Linked DNA regions of Homo sapiens: region 2 is linked to region 1. The links are contacts of gene promoters, found by promoter capture Hi-C in blood cells and fetal thymus (Javierre and others, 2016). All regions are on one chromosome and are shown on one strand. The core of a region is centred on a gene start or on the middle of the fragment in contact, and the rest is flanking DNA. Distances in the headings are between cores, read along the strand shown.

Region 1 (3,342 bases), core at 457-2,956:
GCAGCCCTACCCAGAGGTCCTGGGTCCACCCTCCCTCGCCAATCCTCCCCAGGGTTCCAGAGATGGCCACCAGCCTCGGCTCTCCCACGTCTACACCCATCACCTCCAGCCTGAGGGCGCAACTGAGAGGAACTGAGACCCAAGCAGCTCAGTAAAGTATGTCTGGGGGTCAGGGGCACCCCATCTGGGCCAGGGCGCTGCTCAGGCAGGAGAGCAGGGGACGAAATCCAAGCGCAGCTGGAATGCTCTGGAGACAACAGCTGCTTTTGGGATTCCGTTGCCCGCTGTCCAGCCGTTGGCGGGGGGCGGGGGAGCTCCTGCCCCCAGGTCACTCGCCCTGGGGCCACATCAGAACCCGCCCATCCCCAGTCCCAGGAGGAAGACCCGGGAGTAGGTTGTGAAACGGAGTCTAGAGGGAACAAGACGCTCACCTGGGCCACAGAACAATAGAAGGGGAGGTGGGGGCCTCCCCTGGGACCGGGTCCCGATCCGGATTAGATCCGTGGGGCAGGATTAGCCCTGTTGGTCCCACGAAGCCTGGGCCACTGGTGCGGTGACGGTGGTGGGGCGGGCTTCGGAATCCGTCAGGAGGGAAGCGCGCCCGTGGGGCCGGAGAGGAAGTAAACCCGCGCGTCCACCTCGGGGACACCCCCGCGCTCGGTGGCCTTTGTCCGGTGACGCTGCCAGCGCCCGGAGCACCAGGGGCCGAAGGGGTCCACAGAGCAGCCGCGGGACCCCCGGAAACCCATTGCGACCGGCCCCAGGAGACCCACCACCAGGCTCCCACTGTGCCGAGCTTCCCGCTCGCCCGGCCCCGCGGGTAGCGAAAGCGACAATGTTCCCCTGAGGCCACGACAGAGCCGGCGTGCCGAGATGCCCAAACCCCGCGCGGGGGCCAGCGACTCTCGCGCCAGTAGGCCCTTGACTTGGATCAAGACGGGGGACGGGGGACTCCCAGGACGCGAGCAGAGTGAACGAGGACAAGGTGATGCTCCACGCGCTTCTACTTCAAGTCTGGTCCGGTTCGGCCTGGTCTGGGCCAGCCGAACAGCCACCCAAACACTATCACAGCTTGCCCTTCCGCTTGCTCTGGCTGCCTGCAGACTTGGAGCCATTTTAAGGAGAAACCACCTGGCCACGCCCCCTAGAGAACCCGAGAAGCCAATCCACGCTCGGCCACGCCCCTCTCCGCGCGCTGCGGAGAGGCCAACGGTCGCGCGGGTGACGGTTAGGGCGGGGCGTGCTTCCGCGTCTAGCCGGAGAAACTTGAGCCGGCTGCCCCGCCCACGGTGCCCGAAGCCCCAAAGGCTGGAATTAGGGGCTAGAAGTCTGGCACCCACCGCCTGGCCAGGTGTTCGGGACGCGACCAGGTGGGCGGTCGCCCCGCCCCGGGAGCGCGGCTTAATAGCTGAGAGCCCGGGGGCCAGGCCGCGGCTGCGGCCCAGGCAACGCCCTGAGGGTGGCCACGCTGCCAGGTGTTCCACTCCCCCGGGACTATGGGCAAGGGCCCGGGGCGGGGAGGGCGGCAGGTGCTGACACTGGAGCTGCGCCGGAGGTCGGGGAACTCGGCCTCCTAAGACTGAGGACACTCGCCTGCTGGGCCGGTCGAGCTGTGCGGTGCCCTCCGGGACGCAGGGGGCGCTGCAGCCACGCTGGGTCAGGCTCCGCAGGGCCCTCCCAACCCGGGGACTAACGGCGCCGGTGACGACTTCGCCGCGCGTTGGTCAGCCATGGCCACCGCTCTCGCGCTACGTAGCTTGTACCGAGCGCGACCCTCGCTGCGCTGTCCGCCCGTTGAGCTTCCCTGGTGAGCTTGGACCCCGCGCCCTCGACCATCCAGCCCCCTAGGGCCGGCGACTGCCAGCCCAGCACCTTCCGGCCTCTCGGGCTGCCCGGCCCGGCCCCGCGCCCCTGACCCTTTCCCTCCGCAGGGCCCCGCGGCGAGGGCATCGGCTCTCGCCGGCGGATGACGAGCTGTATCAGCGGACGCGCATCTCTCTGCTGCAACGCGAGGCCGCTCAGGCAATGTACATCGACAGCTACAACAGCCGCGGCTTCATGATAAACGGAAACCGCGTGCTCGGCCCCTGCGCTCTGCTCCCGCACTCGGTGGTGCAGTGGAACGTGAGTCCTGGCCCGCAGTGTGGAAACTGAGGCCCAGAGTCACAGGCCCTCACCCTGCTTGGTCCCTGCAAACTTGGCTTTCCTCTGTCTCCTCCTGCAGTGGATGGAGATGGGGAGAGGCTGCGTGGATTTGTCGTATTAAATGTGCCTCCTCCCTGCACAGGTGGGATCCCACCAGGACATCACCGAAGACAGCTTTTCCCTCTTCTGGTTGCTGGAGCCCCGGATAGGTACTGGGGAAGGGGAGGGAGAACAGAGGTGTTCTGGGCCCCAGAAGGCGACCCCCACTGCAGCCTCTCAACAGAACTGTAGACTAGCCACACCCACCCTTCCCTAGAGATCGTGGTGGTGGGGACTGGAGACCGGACCGAGAGGCTGCAGTCCCAGGTGCTTCAAGCCATGAGGCAGCGGGGCATTGCTGTGGAAGTGCAGGACACGGTGAGTCCCGGGACTGGGGCATGCTGCGGGGAGCACAGGCCTGGCGCTAGACAGGCTGATGCTGGCCTTTTCTTTGCAGCCCAATGCCTGTGCCACCTTCAACTTCCTGTGTCATGAAGGCCGAGTAACTGGAGCTGCTCTCATCCCTCCACCAGGAGGGACTTCACTTACATCTTTGGGCCAAGCTGCTCAATGAACCGCCAGGAACTGACCTGCTGACTGCACTCTGCCAGGCTTCCCAATGCTTTCACTCTTATCTACCCTTTGGCACTTATCTTGCTTATCAACATAATAATTTATACACTTCTCCCATTTTGTATCAGGTGTGTTGCTGGCCAGGAGCTGATGGCTCACTGGGCTCTTGGAGGGGAATGTGAAGAAACCAAGGAGTCACTTTTTCATCTAGATTACTTAGGATTCCTTGACTTTTCAGAAGTCGGGAAGCAGTATGTTTGCCTGTTGTAGACCTACTTGCTCACATGCAGATTTGAGAGGACCTCAACGGCTTTTCTCACAAAATCGCTGATTGTTTTTCTTTTTTTGAGATGGAGTCTCGCTGTCGCCCGGGCTGCAGTGCAGTGGCGTGATCTTGGCCCACTACAACCTCCACCTCCTGGATTCAAGCGATTCTCGTGCCTCAGCCTCCTGAGTAGCTGGAATTAGAGGCCCCTACCACTACACTGGGCTTTTTTTTTTTTTTTTTTTTCTGGAGATGAGTCTTGCTCTTTCGCCAGGGTGGAGTGCAGTGGCGCAGTCTCAGCTCACTGCAACCTCCGCCTC
Region 2 (3,342 bases), core at 226-2,725, 450 kb after region 1:
GAGGGCTGAACGCAGTCGACGGGTGGCCAGTTGCTGGGCCAGTTCGCAGTCCTGACTGTCCCTTGATTAGTCTTAGAGGCCCAAAGGCCTGAAGTTGGGCGGGGAGCCCCTCCCCCACACTACTGGTTCTGAAGGCTCCGAGTGACCGGGACCGACCGCCGGGGTGTGTCCCGGGACGGACTTCCCTGGCCGTGGGGGCGAGGCTTCCATAATGGGGCGTGACTTTTAGGGCGGGGGAGTGGCTAGCCAATGAGCAGAGAGGTGCTGGCCGGGGCGGGGCTTGCGCGCGGGTGCGGCGCGCTGCGGAGCGGCCGACGCAGGCAGAAGCCGGCGGCGCGCGGACAGCCAGTCGGCGCCGCGCGGAGCTGGCCGCTGGATTGGCTGCAACACTCGCGTGTCAGGCGGTTGCTAGGCTCCGGCCGCGCGCCCCGCCCTTGCGCTCAGCGCCCTCTCACCGCCCGGTACGTGCTCGCGCGAAGGCTGCGGCGCGGCGCTCGCGCCTCTTAGGCTTGGCGGTGGCGGCGGCGGCAGCTTCGCGCCGAATCCCCGGGGAGCGGCGGTGGCGGCGTCCTGGGGCCAGGAGGAGCGAACACCTGCCGCGGTCCTCCCGCCGGCGCTGGGTGAGTGCACCGCCCGCCCTATCCGCTGTGCCTGGCTGCTTGGGCCCCCATCCCTGCTGCCGGCTGAGCCTTCCGCGGAACACCTGCTGCTGCTCGCTGTTCGGCCCGGGGCGGGGACACGGCCGCGGACGTCCTTGTGGGTGAGGAGGCGGTGCCGCCCGGGCGGAGCCGCCCCTTTGCTCTGGGTCCCGCAGGCAAAGGCTCGGAGCGTTCGGCTGCAAGGCCCGGGCCGCGCGCCGCGGCGATGGGCCAGGCCTTAGCTCGGCCCGCGCTCCCGGGAACGTGGAGCCTGCGCCTTGGCCGCGGTCGTGAGCCGCCTGCGGGCCGCCTCCCTGGCTTCCAATAGGGGTTGTGGCCCAGTTGGGCCGGATTCCGACTGTGGGGAGTCGAGCCCCGCTAGAGGCAGGGAAGGGCACCGCTGCCGCCACTGCTCTGTCAGAGCTGCTCAGAGCCTTGGTGGGTTCCGTCATCCTTACTTGAGCTCCTTTGGAAGCTTGTTTACTTACTACCTTTTCACTTTGTATTTGGCAGACCTGGTTCACCTGCGAGTGTATTTGGATAGTGTCTCCACAGAAAATGTCGTCTCGGCTTGGAATCTTTTTGCCATAAATTCTAAGTTAGTTTCCTACAAACTCAACTGGTAACTTAAAATGCATCCTTTAATCTCTATAACTTGAAAAGTTCTTATTTTTGTAAATCGAGTTGCTTCAGAATTAGTTTTAATGGTGACGATGAAGTTTTGACTGGTTGAGGCAAGAGCCTGGGACAGCACCTTCATAGCGCAGAGTCTAACTTAAGATTCTAGCCTGCTGCTTCCCTAAATAAGCGAGTAGAAGTGACTCCTGGCATAGAAGCCAGACTCCGTGAAGGGAAGGTGGTGTTTATAGGACATAATTCCAGATAAAGAGCTGGATGTGCTTTCAGGTGTTTTGCAAAGTCTGGTGTAGATGGGGTATTGCAGTTTTATCAGGTTCTATGCTTAGTTAAGTTCAGAGACATTATTTTGGAATGTTCCTGTTCTAAAAAAGAATTCAACCGTACTACATTTTGGAGGCATAAAAATCCATAGTTTGAGTATGGAGAAGTTTAGTTGAACTTTTGTGGGTTTTTTTTGCTGTGAACTAAGGAAGAAGAGCTCATGGCCTGTGTCCTGTATTTTGGAGAAATCAGATTTCAGTAGGGAGTTGGATCCATCATGTGAAGACCCTATGGGATATAAAAGCTTGTGCTGACATGTGCTTTTGTTAAAAGAGGCACAGTGCAAATCCTCACTGTTCTTAAAAATTGATTTTGCAAAATGCATTTATTCATTTGAACAAATATTTTGATTCACTACCTGCCAAATTCTGTGGTAGATCCTAGGGACCCATGTAAAAGAGTCTGCTTCTGCCCTTAAGGAATTCAGTTTAGGGGGCAGTGGGGACCAGGGAACCCATGATTAATAGTGTCTGCCCGCTAAGCGTGCTCACATAGTAGCCTGAGGAGAGAGGGAATTCCTGAGCTGTGGTTTTCAGGGCCAGCAGGAATTAGTGGGGGACATCAAGGCCTGGACACAGGGAACCACATGTACATGAGCACCTAAAATAGTGCTTGGGAGTCCTCCAGCTTGGCAGGTGCGAGCTCTGGGCCTGCCTTGTGCTCAGGAGTTCCAACTTTGTATGCGGGGTGCAGGAGTCTGGGGAGCCTTTTAATCAGTAGAGTGGTGTGACCCAGACCTGTGTTTAGAAAGATATTGCTGGTGGAGTGGCAGGAAGAGGGAGGGGGTCAGGACCTCTGGCAGTTAAGTCAGCTAACAGAGGAGAGGTGGGGAGGGAGAAGGAGCCATCAGAAAAGAGAGACTGAAAAGGTAGTACAGAGGGGATGTCCTGCCATGATGGGGGAGGAGCTACATTCTGGAATGCATGGGCCAGAAGACCAAGCATAACCAAGGATTTAAATTCCTTGTTGACTACCTGGTATAGTGACCTACAGAGTTGCTTGTGTCTGGTTAGTGTTGAGGATGGTGGGATTTGGAGGGACCACTTAGGGACCACTTAGACTGCCGTCGATGCATAGGAAAGGAGGCCTGGCATTTGATTATTAAAAACTTTATCGCCGGGCATGGTGGCTCCCACCTGTAATCCCAGCAGTTTGGGAGGCCGAGGCGGGCGGATCACGAGGTCAGGAGATCGAGATCATCCTGGCTAACACGGTGAAACCCCCTCTCTACTAAAAATACAAAAAATTAGCCGGGCGTGGTGGTGGGCACCTGTAGTCCCAGCTACTCAGGAGGCTGAGGCAGGAGAATGGCGTGAACCCGGGAGGCGGAGCTTGCAGTGAGTTGAGATAGAGCCACTGCACTCCAGCCTGGGCCACAGATCGAGACTCCGTCTCAAAAACAAAACAAAAAACAACTTTATCTCCAGGCAGGGCGTGGTGGCTCACGCCTGTAATCCCAGCACTTTGGGATTCTGAGGCAGGTGGATTACCTGAGGTCAGGAGTTCAGGACCAGCCTGGCCGACATGGTGAAACCCCGTCTCTACTAAAAAATACAAAAATTAGCCAGGCATGGTGGCGGGCGCCTTTAATCGCAGCTACTCGGGAGGCTGAGACAGGAGAATCGCTTGAACCCGGGAGGCGGAGGTTGCAGTGAGCTGAAAGCCTGGGTGACAAGAGCAAAACTCGGTCTCAAAAAAAATAAAAAATAAAACAAAACAACTGGCCAGGCGCGGTGGCTCACGC

Evidence for each region. The method cuts DNA at HindIII sites, captures the fragments that hold promoters and counts their contacts. A CHiCAGO score of 5 or more calls a contact.
Region 2: a fragment that was not itself captured here is called in contact with the fragment with the promoter of NDUFAF3 in region 1 in 3 of 17 cell types (neutrophils, megakaryocytes and erythroblasts); the score reaches 6.5 in neutrophils.

Annotation. Positions count from the first base shown.
Region 1 is chr3:49,020,415-49,023,756 of GRCh38, forward strand. NDUFAF3 (NADH:ubiquinone oxidoreductase complex assembly factor 3) reads left to right here and starts at 1,707. Exons shown (of 5, transcript NM_199069.2): 1 at 1,707-1,807; 2 at 1,932-2,124; 3 at 2,288-2,354; 4 at 2,462-2,562; 5 at 2,642-3,081. The coding sequence starts at 1,731. The coding sequence ends at 2,758. MIR191 (microRNA 191) reads right to left here and starts at 295; the gene lies at 204-295. It also overlaps a transcript of DALRD3 not described here. RefSeq lists an enhancer at 794-1,563 and silencers at 1,079-1,281, 1,318-1,507, 1,728-1,827, 1,868-1,987, 2,048-2,097. The HindIII fragment of the contact is 13,281 bases long and covers 1-3,342 here.
Region 2 is chr3:49,469,814-49,473,155 of GRCh38, forward strand. DAG1 (dystroglycan 1) reads left to right here and starts at 454. Exons shown (of 3, transcript NM_004393.6): 1 at 454-620. RefSeq lists a silencer at 133-872. The HindIII fragment of the contact is 729 bases long and covers 1,112-1,840 here.